3 separate regions of the Homo sapiens genome follow, and all the other regions are linked to region 3. Evidence: promoter capture Hi-C in 16 types of primary human blood cells and fetal thymus (Javierre and others, 2016). All regions are on one chromosome and are shown on one strand. Each heading gives the region's core, a stretch centred on a gene start or on the middle of the fragment in contact. The rest is flanking DNA. Distances are from core to core; before and after follow the strand shown. Region 1 has its middle 240 kb from the start of LINC03005. Region 2 holds the start of NUP153-AS1 (NUP153 antisense RNA 1). Region 3 holds the start of CDKAL1 (CDKAL1 threonylcarbamoyladenosine tRNA methylthiotransferase).

The links. The method cuts DNA at HindIII sites, captures the fragments that hold promoters and counts their contacts. A CHiCAGO score of 5 or more calls a contact.
Region 1: a fragment that was not itself captured here is called in contact with the fragment with the promoter of CDKAL1 in region 3 in 1 of 17 cell types (fetal thymus); the score reaches 9.0 in fetal thymus.
Region 2: a fragment that was not itself captured here is called in contact with the fragment with the promoter of CDKAL1 in region 3 in 1 of 17 cell types (non-activated CD4 T cells); the score reaches 6.1 in non-activated CD4 T cells.

The regions. Positions count from the first base shown.
Region 1 is chr6:22,953,984-22,958,405 of GRCh38, reverse strand. No RefSeq gene overlaps it. Among named protein-coding and RNA genes, the nearest start is that of LINC03005, 240 kb to the right of the region's middle. The HindIII fragment of the contact is 1,837 bases long and covers 1,890-3,726 here.
Region 2 is chr6:17,706,378-17,710,602 of GRCh38, reverse strand. NUP153-AS1 (NUP153 antisense RNA 1) reads right to left here and starts at 3,560. Exons shown (of 3, transcript NR_134618.1): 1 at 3,475-3,560; 2 at 2,977-3,209. NUP153 (nucleoporin 153) reads left to right here and starts at 3,678. Exons shown (of 22, transcript NM_005124.4): 1 at 3,678-4,225. The coding sequence starts at 4,216. RefSeq lists enhancers at 3,487-3,756, 3,566-4,225 and a silencer at 3,847-4,225. The HindIII fragment of the contact is 1,146 bases long and covers 802-1,947 here.
Region 3 is chr6:20,533,196-20,537,607 of GRCh38, reverse strand. CDKAL1 (CDKAL1 threonylcarbamoyladenosine tRNA methylthiotransferase) reads right to left here and starts at 3,151. Exons shown (of 16, transcript NM_017774.3): 1 at 3,034-3,151; 2 at 2,214-2,257. RefSeq lists enhancers at 2,953-3,032, 3,063-3,222. The HindIII fragment of the contact is 2,844 bases long and covers 489-3,332 here.

The sequences.
Region 1 (4,422 bases), core at 1,559-4,058, 2.4 Mb before region 3:
TGTCTTCATATTTTCATCTATTTAGACAGATTTATATGTAAACTCCTGCAAAGGAAGATTAGTTGACAGCAAAACATATTTATCTGTTGCACAGAAGAGAGGTGTGGATTAGAAATGCAGATTTGGGAATTATAAAAATAGTTGCAGCCATAAGAGACATAGTTTTACTTAAGAAAGTAAATGGAATAGTACAAAAATAAAGACTGGTGATGGAATTGTGAGGAACACAAACACTTAACAGATAGAGATGGGAACCTGCTGAGGACTGTCAAGAACACTTACAAGAATATCAGAACAAAATGGTGTCCCTGATACCAAAGGAGGAAGAGGAGTTACAAGGAGGAAGAGGAGTTCTCCAAAACAATGTTAGCAGAGAAGTGAGTGGGTTGGAGAAATAAACATGTTATTTGATGGAAGCATCTGGAAAGTAATTGATAATTTTGGTAAAGCAGTGTCAGGGTGGGATGTGCAGAATTATATGTTCCTAGTAAAGGTGCTGAAGTGTGGAGGCAGAGACAGGGAACTGGGAGTAAAGGTTGCTTTTGATAGAAGTTTGGCAGAGTAATGGTTCAAGGGAGATGTGTAGCCGAGTAAGTTTTTTAGTTTCTGTTTCTGTTTTTCTTTTGGTTCTTAGATTTAGAAGATTTGAACATATTTGCCTGCTGACATGAAAAGGCTATGTCAGAAAAGTGGACAACTTTTGGAGCAGACAAGGAGTGGAGTAGGGGCTTTGAAAGGAGGGTTAACTGTCTGAGATAGGTGATGTAATGAAGGAAGAAAGGAACTGATGAGGGAAGGATCACTGGTTGGCATTCCCAATCCAGGTAAGATGGCTTTGTAATGGTGACACCAACTTTTAGGTCAGGCTGGAACTCAGATCTCATTTGTTTACTTTGGGATCTCATAGAGAAAGTGCAATAAAGCAACATTATTTGCAAGCTATGAGACCCCTGAGATGCTTAAGGAAGGTTGTTTAGCTGAAACAGCTTTGAGGAACAGAAGCCACATCATGTAGCAGAGTTAACACCCTGGGATAAGAGGCTAAGAATTTAGGCATTGCTCTCGTGGAGGAAATCAGATCTCCTCCACAGCGTAAACTCCCATGAGTGATCCCAGAAGTGCTATGGCTGGGCATACTCAGGATGGAACTTCCTAACCCATAAGGCGCACAAGCCTTTTTTTGGCAAATACCAGTTGTTCCTACCTCAGACGGATTTCTTCACTTTGCAAAGTCACCAGGTCTCATCTCCAATGAGCTGTTTAGAGGCATGACATTTATTCTTCAGTGCCATTCAACCTAGTAGTAAGTTTAAATTTGAGTGATTATAAAACTATCCCAATCACTTGTGCTCTTGTCTCATTGTATGCCTGTTTCTCAGTTTGAGAAGTCTGGATGTTCAGCTCTACTAGATGCATGCTTTGCTTTCTATTATTGTTATATTTCAGATTCAAATTCTTGCCAAGTTTTTCTAAATACATTTATGAAATGTATTGCATCCACCTTTTTTGATTCCAGCAAAGGCAGCATCCTTTATAAGAACACCAAAGGCGTAGGGAAGGCCTAGTTTAGAGTCCCAGTTCGACCACATATTAACATGTATCATCTAGCCAGCCACTTTACCCCTCCAGCCTTGGATTTCTTCCTTATATAAAAAAGAAGGTGTGACTAGACCTCATTATATCAGCCAGCTCTAAAATCCTTTATAAGATAGAAATTTTACTTTGTCATGGTCAACTTAAAGTAAAGTATTGAAAGTCAAACAGCTAAGAACACCTGCAAACAGGGTAGGTGGCAGTCCATGCCCATGTATTCTAGGAGCCTAATACTGACACCAGAGTTTTACACTGCAGCAGCGTAATCGTTCCTACCAGCATGTTCCATTAAAGCTTGACTTACTGCCAGGGAATTCACCTGCTGACACAGTAAAACTCCTAACTGGAAGCATTAACATTGCAATGTCAGATGGTGGAGGTGGGGAAACATGCTCATAAATTCCACAGACGTGCACTGCTTTATTTGGGGTCCTGGTTGCAAACTCATTATTTATGCTGTGTACAGTAGGCCATCAACATATCCCACTGGGAAATTAGTTTGCAATTTAGATTCGTTTCAAAGTACAAGTGATTCTCAAGTCATTTTCCAAGGTTAAATGAGAACTCTTATTGCTTTCCGTGGGCTCAGAGGGAATTTTTACTCCGTGTGTTCCCTCCTCCCCCAGCTTCTGCTAGACTGTCTTGATTTTTCTTTCTTAAGTGCACTTTGTGCTAAATCTCCTTTTTTCAATTTTTGAAAGCTGGTAAATGGAATGGTATTTGTTGCATTTTCTTGCTTGCTGGGACTGCTTAAGTACCTCACTTTTTATTATTGCTGTTATTCTTAGAAGAGTCCTGAGAGGTTTCCATGTTCCTTACAAACAGGATTGCTTGGCTAACTAACACAGGAATGATTTTCAAAGATGGGGTGACATCCACTTTAGGGTGCAGTGAATCACAGGCATCATTTCACTCTCATGCCAACCTTCCCACTCCAGGGGCCATGCCATTGGGCAAGGATTCAGGTGGGCTAGCTGAAAGCAGGAGTGAGCTTGGCAACTCCAGGCAATGTAAATTAGGGGTTCAACATTTATTACAGAATTCCAAGTCCTTAAGCACAAAACAAATTAAGAAAAAACAGGGTTCCATTAATTCTGTCAGATTTCCCAAACCCCTTGGTTGCTTGATTCTCTCCTTTAGAACATCATTAAAGGTTTTTTTTAGACTTTATTTTACTGGTAAAATGTGGACATGTCCCCTCATCTTTTTCCAACCTGGGAAAATTGCCTCAAACCACCTGGCAGATAATTTATAACCTGATATTATTCTTGCAGAATAGATGCCATTATTTTACCCCATATCATTCCTAAGTAGTAGAAAATAATCCATGATATAAAGATCTTGAAGGATTTCATTTCTTTTCCTCTTTTCTCATTAAGTGTTTAAAATGCCAAGGTCTGATATAATTAGATATAATAAGCCAAAGTTCAGATAGAAAACAAACCAAATTTGGTAAGCCACATTAAGTCTCCCTTCTCCCTCAGCAACAAGAAGCTCTAAGGTTTTTCTGAAACCAAAGTTTCAACATCTCTCTAATGCATTAGGAGAGTGTTTTCACAGGCACAGACCAGAAAGTATACACACCGAGGAGATTAAGTGTTTACTTTCAAAATGTTTGAAATTGCTAGCTTAAACACAGAAACTACGCACAAAGAGTGCAGAGAAACAATGAAAGGAAGATATCAACAGAGTAAATACCACCTAAAAATACTAACAGTCTTAAAGGTCAGAAATCCTTAGTTAAACAAAAAGACTCATCCATTAGAAACAATCAATTACAAGATAACCTGAGAATGTCATCACACTATGAGTTTCCTTTCAAAGCAGAAATTATTCAGCTAAAAGCTATTAGCTTTGTACTCTATAGGTTACTAACCAGAGCGGGTTACAAACAGAAACTGAAACCAAAAGAAAAAGAAACAGAAAAATAAGTACATTTAGAACTGCTTAATATTGAACTTCTAAGGTGTAGGAAGGCTTTTATCCTGTGGATATTTCAGTCCGTATCTCTATGTGTTCTTTGATGCTGTGTGGATGGAAAACAAAACTATTCCCTAGATTCGATATTCTCAGTTTGTCATTTTAGTTGAAATTGGATTAAAATGTTTTCCTTGATTGCAGATTATTCAAGCTTTTTTTTTACTACTATTTAAATATGAACATACTTCAAATATAATCCTCCGCCCCTTCAAGGTTTGAAAGAAACAGGTGTTGATTTGGTTTGCTAGTGTTTCTGGTATCTTTTTATTTTTTAAATTTTTTTGTACTATATTTTGTTCATCTTGGCCTTTGCTGGGTAAAATAATAGGTTAGACAGGTATGATACTTTAAATAGAGAATCTTAACATCTGTGAATCTTTAAGAACACTCAAGCAGATGGTACTTATAAGGCGAGTCAAATTCTTTCAATGTTTCTCGTGTCTCCAACAATTATTTTTCCTAGACTTTCATATTGTAAATTTTAATTCTAGATAGCATACTAATTATTTATTATGAAAGCCCCAAATCATCTCCTAGATCTGGAGAGTGGCTGAATCTGTTAAAACTTCCCCGCTCTCAGGAACATATTATTATATTATTAAGGCAAATTAAAAGATTTCTGGGTTTTTAATGTTTCAAGAGATAATACATATTTCATTAATAACACTTTCCCACAATGTGATTAAAACCAAGCAGGGGGATATGCTCTTGTGACTTTACCTGGCATGAACCTGGCCTGATAGACAGTGCCTTCACGTTAAATAAGGGTCACATAACATATACAACCTTTAGATACCTATTTTTTCTTTATTATCTGCCAAGCATTATTCTAAAACAGAAAATGCAATG
Region 2 (4,225 bases), core at 125-2,624, 2.8 Mb after region 3:
CAAAGACAGTATCACCAGGCAATACGAATTTTTCAGCTCTTTATGGGACCACCATTGTATATTGGGCCCATTGTTGATTGAAACATTGTTATGCTGTGCATGAGTGTGATAATTTGTTTTAATAGACATCACAGCAGATACCTCATTTTGTTTTGGTAAGGTGGAATAACTACATAAAATTTCGTAACTTCTTGTACTTGTCATCTTTAAACATTCTTTTGGCCAGAATTGTATTAGTACCTTCTGAAGAATGTATGATGGCTCTTTTTCAATCTAGGTTGGGTTTAGACTAAATTGTATTTCACTTTTAATTAGTGGATACTCCTTATCTATTAGAGATGGGTCAGCAGCCTATTTGCTAATTTATAATTGGCAGCTGGTTACATATATATATATACATATATATATATATTTGTTGTTTTAATTTTTTAATTTTTTTGATATGGAGTCTCACTCTGTGGCCCAGGCTGGAGTGCAGTGGCATGATCTCAGTTCACTGCAACCTCCACCTCCATGGTTCAAGCGATTCTCCTGCCTCAGCTTCCCGAGTGGCTGGGACTACAGGTGAGCACCACCACGCCCAGCTAATTTTTTTTTTTTTTTTTTTAAGTGGAGACAGGTTTCACCATGTTGGCCAGGCTGGTCTCGAACTCCTGACCTCCAGTGATCCACCCGCCTTGGCCTCCCAGAGTGCTGGGATTACAGGTGTGAGCCACTGTGCTCGGCCACTTTCTACTATATTATATGGGGAACAAAATAAAGAAGTTTCTTGGCAGAGGAGGACTATTGTAGCAACAAGCTTTTCATGAATTGCAGTGTCTCCCAATATGCCATTTATTTGGCTGAAAAAACTAGGTCCAGGTTGAATGCAGATTTCCTCCTGTCTCTTTATTCCTTCTCTGCTCTCAAGCCTGGCACGGCTTCCAATGACTCAATCACATGAATGTGAGATTAATGCATTATAGTTCCCTCAAATACTATTTTACTTCCAAGAAATAAAATAATTGTGGAAATGGGTAAAAAGTTGAGAGCATGGGTAAAAGGAATGTGGATTTTCCCATATCTCCTCAAGTTCTACCAATCTTCTATTTCTGAAGCATTGTCTACATTTGGCCCAATTCTTTCGCGTCTCTCTTCCTTTCAAAGGTTGGCTGTGAAGGGTGTCCAGCACATCAAAGAATAGCCTCCAAGAAAGGGGTGAGCTTTGATTCCAGTCAGTCCTCTGTTCTGTGGTGGAAACTCTGGGTCTCATAGAGTGAAGAGGGCAGATGGGATGTGGCTATGGTTTAATCTCCTCTACGTATAACCCAATTAAAGATTCAGGTACAGATCTTCCCTATGAGTTAGCTTATCGTGAATTACTTTACTTGGCTGTCAAATATCTAGCTATGGATTTGTGGAAGAATAGGATTTCTGCATAGGAGGAAGATAGCACCTGAGGGAAACAACTGTCTTTAAGAAAGATGAAGTGCTTCAGGAGGAAGAGGGGGCATACCTGGAGAATTTAGTGGGAAGTTAGTGGTGGGAGGAGGCATGAAGCTAGGATGAGACAGCGGAAAATAGATTAATTTTGTTTATCATATTTGGCAACTTGTCTTGATCTTGATGGTTATGGTCAGAGGTGCCACTGAAAGCCATTGATGTGTACACCTATGCTTGGTATAGCATAGTTTCTTTAGGCGCTGAAAGGTACAAGTTCAAAGGTACTAGAAGACTGGCTTTACAATTTCACTTGTATGATTTAAACAATGAACCTGAATTGTGCAGTTTGATTGTGGAGATAGTATAAATGTCTTGGAACTAATTATTTATATCTGATTGATGGTTGATATTGGATGCTTTCTATCTAAGCAGTTACTATGAACTAGATATACATTAATCCTTTCACCAGACCACTACCCTGTGAGGTCAATATTCGCTCTATTTGCTGATGAAAAAAACGAAGCTTAGAAACAGGATCAGTGGGCTGGGCGCGGTGGCTCACGCCTGTAATCCCAGCACTTTGGGAGGCCGTGGGCAGATCACCTGAGATTGAGAGTTCGAGACCAGCCTGACCAACATGGAGAAACCCCATCTCTAGTAAAAATACAAAATTAGCCGGCCGTCGTGGCACATGCCTGTAATCCCAGCTACTCGGGAGGCTGAGGCAGGAGAATCGCTTGAACCCAGGAGGTGGAGGTTGCTGAGATTGCGCCATTGCACTCCAGCCTGGGCAAAACAAGAGGAAAAAACTTCGTCTCAAAAAAAAAAAAAAAAGAAAGAAACAGGATCAGTAACTTCCCCAAGGCTACACAGCTAGTAAGTGGGAGATTTATAGTAAATAGGCTGGGCGTGGCGGCTCACACGGGTAATCCCAGCACTTTGGGAGGCCAAGGCGGGTGGATCACTTGAGGTCAGGAGTTCAAGGCCAGCCTGGCCAACATGGCGAAACCCCATCTCTACTAAAAATACACAAATCAGCTGGGCGTGGTGGTGCACGCCTGTAGTCCCAGCTACTTAGGAAGCCGAGGCAGGAGAATAGCTTGAACCTGGGAGGCAAAGGGTGCAGTGAGCCAAGATCGCGCCACTGCACTCCAGCCTGGGCGACAGGGCAAGACTCTGTCTCTCAGAAAAAAAGAAAGAAAGAAAGAAAGAAAAAAAAAGATTTATAGTAAGTCTAAGATTTTTCACAACATATTTTTCCTCCCTAATCATTTGGCTATTTGTCTTTAGCTCTTACAGAAAAGTTGGGTTATAGTCCTGGCTTTGATTACCCATCTCAGTGTCATTGATTGTGCCACCTAAATTTCTCTGGACATCTTGTCTGGTTGGTTGAATGAGAGGGTTGGACTATGTGATCACCAGGACCTTTCTAATCGTCAACTCCTAGAATATACATTTTGTGGATTCAGTCTTTGAGTCTAGCTCACTTACTCAGTTTCCTAAATATTTGGAGCAAATATAGTATACTTTTATTGTTAAGGATATATCACTTACCCCTAATGTTAGCTGACTGCATGGGTTATAATTGTAATCATTCATCGCATTTTTCGTCTATTAGCAAATATACATGCTCTCCATAGATGATCACGTCTGCTCCTCACAACAGCTTTATAAGGTGGATTTTAAAGCTCCCATTTTATGGAGGAGGAAGCTAAGGCTCAGACGGTTTTGATTCATCCAAGGTCAAATAGGTTGGGTGGCAGAACCAGAATTCCAGCCCCGTGTGTCTGCAACAAAACCTTTATATGTTTAAAGAAACATTAATGAAGCCGTATATATTTTCTAATTCTAAGGATCATGGACTTTATTTTTCAACCACAGATTTTTTTTTCCTCCTTCTTAAATCATTAGCTCTTGTCTTTGATTTTACTGTCTGCTTACTTCCTGCCTACTTAACCAACCGACAGGGAGAAGGAGAATGGGAAGAGGTTACTGTTTTTATGTTAAGTGTCTTTTCAAAGTCTAATTTACAGCCAAGAACAGCAAAAGTACCCCTTGGCTTTGTGCCTCTGCGGCGCCCCGGAGATCTCCTTCCCCGTCCCTCTTCCTTTCCGAGAAGCCGCGTTCCGTTGTTGAACTACGTTTCCCAGCGTGCCGCGCGGCCGAGAGCGTGGACTCGACCAGCCCTTCCTCTTTGCCTATCAGCTCGTCGCAGCATGATGATGCAAATGCGTCGGGCGCCGATGAGTGACGACATTCTGGCTCGCGACCGCGGCAGCCGCCTTAGCAGGGGTAATAGGCGCAACGGCGGCGGAGGCTGCAGGGACGACGACGACGACGGCGGCGGGGCGGGCGCTGTGCGCACAGGGGAGGGGTAGGCGGGCGTCGCCAGCGGCTTCAACTGCGGCAGCTACGGCTAGGGCGACGGAAGAACTCCCACCAGTCGGCGGTCGAGTTAGGCCTCAGCACCGCGGGGAACTGTTCGTGCTGTCCTCTGCGGGAGATCTCCATAGAGACCGTGACACACACAGAGGCGGGGGTCCGCAGAGGCGGCCGGACCGGAGCCTCCTCGGCCTCTGCGGCCGCCACCCCCTTCCCCGCTGCCAGCACTCACCCTCTCTCCGCTCCTGCTCGCAACCTCGCGGTTCCTGGGGTGCTTGTGCCCACTGTGTGGACAGCGCGGGCGGACTTTTGGGCCGGGGCCGGGCGGCGGGGGAGGCTCTCTAAGGCCTCCGCCTCTGCCTCTCCCGCCCCCTTACCCGCCCCGGAGCGGGAAGCGGCGGAGGCTCCGCCATGGCCTCGG
Region 3 (4,412 bases), core at 1,902-4,401:
TGAGACAGAGTTTCACTCTTGCTGCCCAGGCTGGAGTGCAATGGCACGATCTCGGCTCACTGCAACCTGTGCCTCCTGGGTTCAAGCAATTCTCCTGCCTCAGCCTCCCGAGTAGCTGGGATTACAGGCACCTGCCACCACGCCCAGCTAATTTTGTATTTTTAGTAGAGACGGGGTTTCACCATGTTGGTCAGGCTGGTCTTGAACTCCCAACCTCAGGTGATCCACCTGCCTTGGCCTCCCAAAGTGCTGGGATTACAGGCGTGAGCCACTGCACCCAGCGGGAAGCTTTTCATCATATCAAATCTCCAGGTTCCATTCTGAATTAGAATCTCCAAGAGTAGAACTGAAGTATGTGAACATAGAAACTGTCCAGGTAATTCCACTATAGATCCCTAATTAAGAACCACGATTCCACAGTAATGGTTCTCAATCTTCAACACTCATTCTATTCACCTGAAGAGCTTTTGAAAATTCCCAACTAAGCTTGCAGTGAGCCGAGATCACGCCACTGCACTCCAGCCTGGGCGACAGAGCGAGACTCTGTCTCAAAACAAAAACAAAAACAAAAGAAAAAAAAGAAAATTCCCAACTAAGCCCCAAGATAGCTGAATGAATCTCTGAGAATGGAGCCTGGGCATCAATATCTTTTAAAAACTTTCCAGTCATTCTCATGTGTGTACAGCCACAGTTGCAAAGCAATGTCCAGTGGTTTTCAAAGTGTAGTTTCCACATCAGCTGGAGTAGCATCATGGGGAACTTGTTAGAAATGAACATTTTTTCTTTTTCAGTTTTTTTGTAAAAACAAGGTCTCGCTTTGTTGTCCAGGCTGGTCTCAAACTCCTCCCATCTTGGCCCCTAAAGTATGGGATTACAGGCATGAGCCACCATGCCCAGCCAGAAATGAAAATTCTTGAACTCCACTCCAGACATACTAAATCAGATATTTTGAGTAAAACCTAGCAATATTTAACAGGCCCTCTAGGTGATTTTGATCTGAATTAAAGTTTGATAATCACTGTCCCAGAATTATTCTTTCATAAAAACCACCTAGAATGTATGTCAAATATACATAACCTAGACAATTCAAGGGGGAAAGCGTAGTTTTTTTTTCAACAAATGACACTGGGATAACTGGATAGCAACATGTAAAAAATAAAGTTGGAGCCCTATTTCACATTTCACATCATATACAAAAATTAACCGAAAATGGATCATAGACCTAAATTTAGGAGCTAACATTATGAAACTCTTAGAAAAAAACATAAGCACAAATCTTTATGATGTTAGAGTAGGCCCTTCTTTCTTAGCTAAGAAATGAAAAGCACAAGCAACAAAAGGAAAAACAGATTAGATGAAGAAGATACAGAAATGGGCCAGGTGCAGAGGCTCATGCCTATAATCCCAACACTGGGAAGCCAAGGTGGCAGGATCACTTCAGGCCAGGAGTACAAGGCCAGAGCCTAGGCAACACGGACCCTATCGCTACAAAAAAAAAAAAAAAAGTAAAATTTAGCCGGGCATGGTGGCATGCACCTGTAGTCCCAGCTACTTGGGAGGCTGAAGTGGGATCACTTGAGACCAGGTGGTCAAGGCTGCAGTGAGCCGTAATCGAGCCACTGCACTCTGGCCTGGGTGGCATAGGGAAGCCGTGTCTCAAAAACACACACATACAAATGGCTGATAAGCACATGAAAAGATGTCAACATCATGAGCCATCAGGGAAATGGAAATCCAAACCACAATAATACACCACTTCATACCCATTAGGATGGGTAGAATCAAAAAGACAAATAACTGTTGACAGGCATGTGGATTACATCACCCAGAGGGGAAGAAAAAGAGAACAGAGGTAGGAGAAGGTACAAGACCACGACTTGAGAGACTCCAAATTTAACTGCCAGATAAAGGAAAATCAGCTTATAATGGATTCCAAGAAGCAGCCACCAGACAAGGAAAAAAATCCATGGGCCATGGAAGGCAAATGAAAAGGGCATCTCAAAAAAGTGGACATGGTCAATGCTGGTGAATGAAAATGAAAGGTTAAGTAAAATAAATGAAAATATCTCTTCGATTTAATGCTATGTAAAGCACAATGTTTCCATAACATGATAGTGGCAAATAGCTAAAACATTAGGCTACCTCTCTGCATTTTCTAACATGCAGAAATACGCACAGCACTCAAACATAAAAGGTTTAAAATAAATCAGTACCTTAATTATCTGCAATTAGTCTAAAGTCCTCTTGAAAGATGAGTCTGGAAAATAAAAATTGATTAGGAAAAGTAAGCACCCAAAAAGTTCACAAAACCACTGTAAGGATTCTTTACTTAAAAGGAATCAGACTCCATAAAAGACTGCTTTATACAGCAGGATTAATGATGCTCCATACTACTTGTAACTTCTTACTGATTACAACAGGTGTGCTGACATCTGCCGTGACGGTGATCCAGTGTCTGGCTTTAGTAATAAATGTTGTATTCAGCACCGCAACACGTCTGCATAGTGCGAGTAACCAACCACTACAAAACAGGATTAAGTCAATAAGGTAGATAGACATCCAGATCACGTTCCATCCGAAAGATAACTGTCGTCCCGAGATTCAGAAAAAGGTTTTATGAGCAAAGAAGAACGAAAAGTGAAAAAGCAAGACACCTGCTTTTCTCAATAACTTCTGCTTAAATTCTTAACATACTGATCTGGGAAAGCTATATAACTGCGAAAGCCTTGTCACATCTACAAATTCACTAAGGTATAAAGTGGGAGAACAAATGAAGTTAAACCTGACAATAAGGAACGAGGTGCCTAAAATACTCCTAACTGGAGAGCGGCACCTGAGGCCAACGACCCTATCCTCGCTCCTGGAAGCCCCATCTGCCTCCCAATTCCCCCATCCCAGCTGGCAAATCCCCTTTTAACTGCGAAACAAATTTGCAAACAGCCCAAGAAAAACTGAAACTGGAGAAACAAGGCTTGGCCATAAAAGGAGCTGTGGCCACACTCTGCCCCACATGGACCCATCGGCCACCCTTACCCAGAAGTCGGGAAGTAAAAACCAGTCCAAAGTGAGAAAATCAACCCGCCACTCTCCGGAAGCTGCACAGACTTTAGATGGAGAGCGCCATGACACATACGTCCCGCCACGTTTATTTGCGCATGCTCAGCGACGGTGGCCCGAAGAGATCAAATTACATCATTGCTGAAAGCGCTAGTTCTGGTTTAACTTAGTTTAGGAATGACTACGCTTCAAGTTCCTTTGATTCCAAGAACTAAAATAACAACCCTGAGTCCTCGGGTTCCTAGAAATGCTTAATAGCCAACTTCTCCTAAGCTTTTATGTGTTAGACACTGTGCTAAGTACTTTGCATAAATATTATTCACTATTTATTTATTATTATTATTATTCCCAGTTTACAAAAGAGGACACTGGAAGTTTAAGGACTTAATCTAAGTTACTCTACTAGTCGTGCTGCGCTCTGGGCTGGATCCGATGCTGTCTGACTCCCAAAGAACTTGCTCTTTTCACTGCATTTTACTAGCCTCCTCAATCATTTGTGAAAAGAGGTCTCTTCTTTAATATTAAAAAAACAGGAAGGAAAGGATAAAGGTCAGTTGGTAGGTTTCACTTAATATACATCATTGAGCACCACACAAGTGTTTTTGTTTTTTGTTTTGGAAAACTTAGATGGCAGTTTAGCAGACACCTATGGAAAGAAAATACTTTTATGGAGTACGGATTCTCACCCGCTTTCTCTACATATGTTATCTCACTTTACTATTCGTTACCCAAGACACTGTATTTGACCATGTGTTTACCAGAAGAATATCTTTACTTGAAAAAGTAAAGGTAATAGGAGGCAATAGGCCATGAAGAAGGGTCAGAAATCGTGAGTTTTATGCCTGACTTAGGGTTTCATAGTGATTTGGGGCAATTACTTTGTTTTGCAAATGCCTTTCCTAGTACAATTTCATCTAATTAAAATGCCATCCATCTACTCAAGAGGCTGATGTGGGAGGATCACTTGAGCTCAGAAGTTTGAAAACAGCCTGGGCAACACAGTGAGACCCAGTCTCTAAAATAGATTTAAAAAAAAAAAAAAAAACCACCCTTTTCTCTGTTTATCCATATCCATAAAATAATCTAAACTGTGCCCTGGGGTCCACTGTTGTCTTTACCCACCTAAATTAAAATTGTGTATTTATGTTGCCCTACTTTTTTTTTTTTTTTTTTTTTTTTTTTAGATAGGGTCTTCTTCTGTCACCCAGGCTGGAGTACAGTGTTACCATCACAGCTCACTGCAACCTCTCCCTCCTAGCCTCAAGAGATTCTCATGCCTTAGCCTCCCAAGTAGCTGGGACTACAGGTGCACACCACCATACCCATCTAATTCCATCTCTTTCACTAGACCAAAA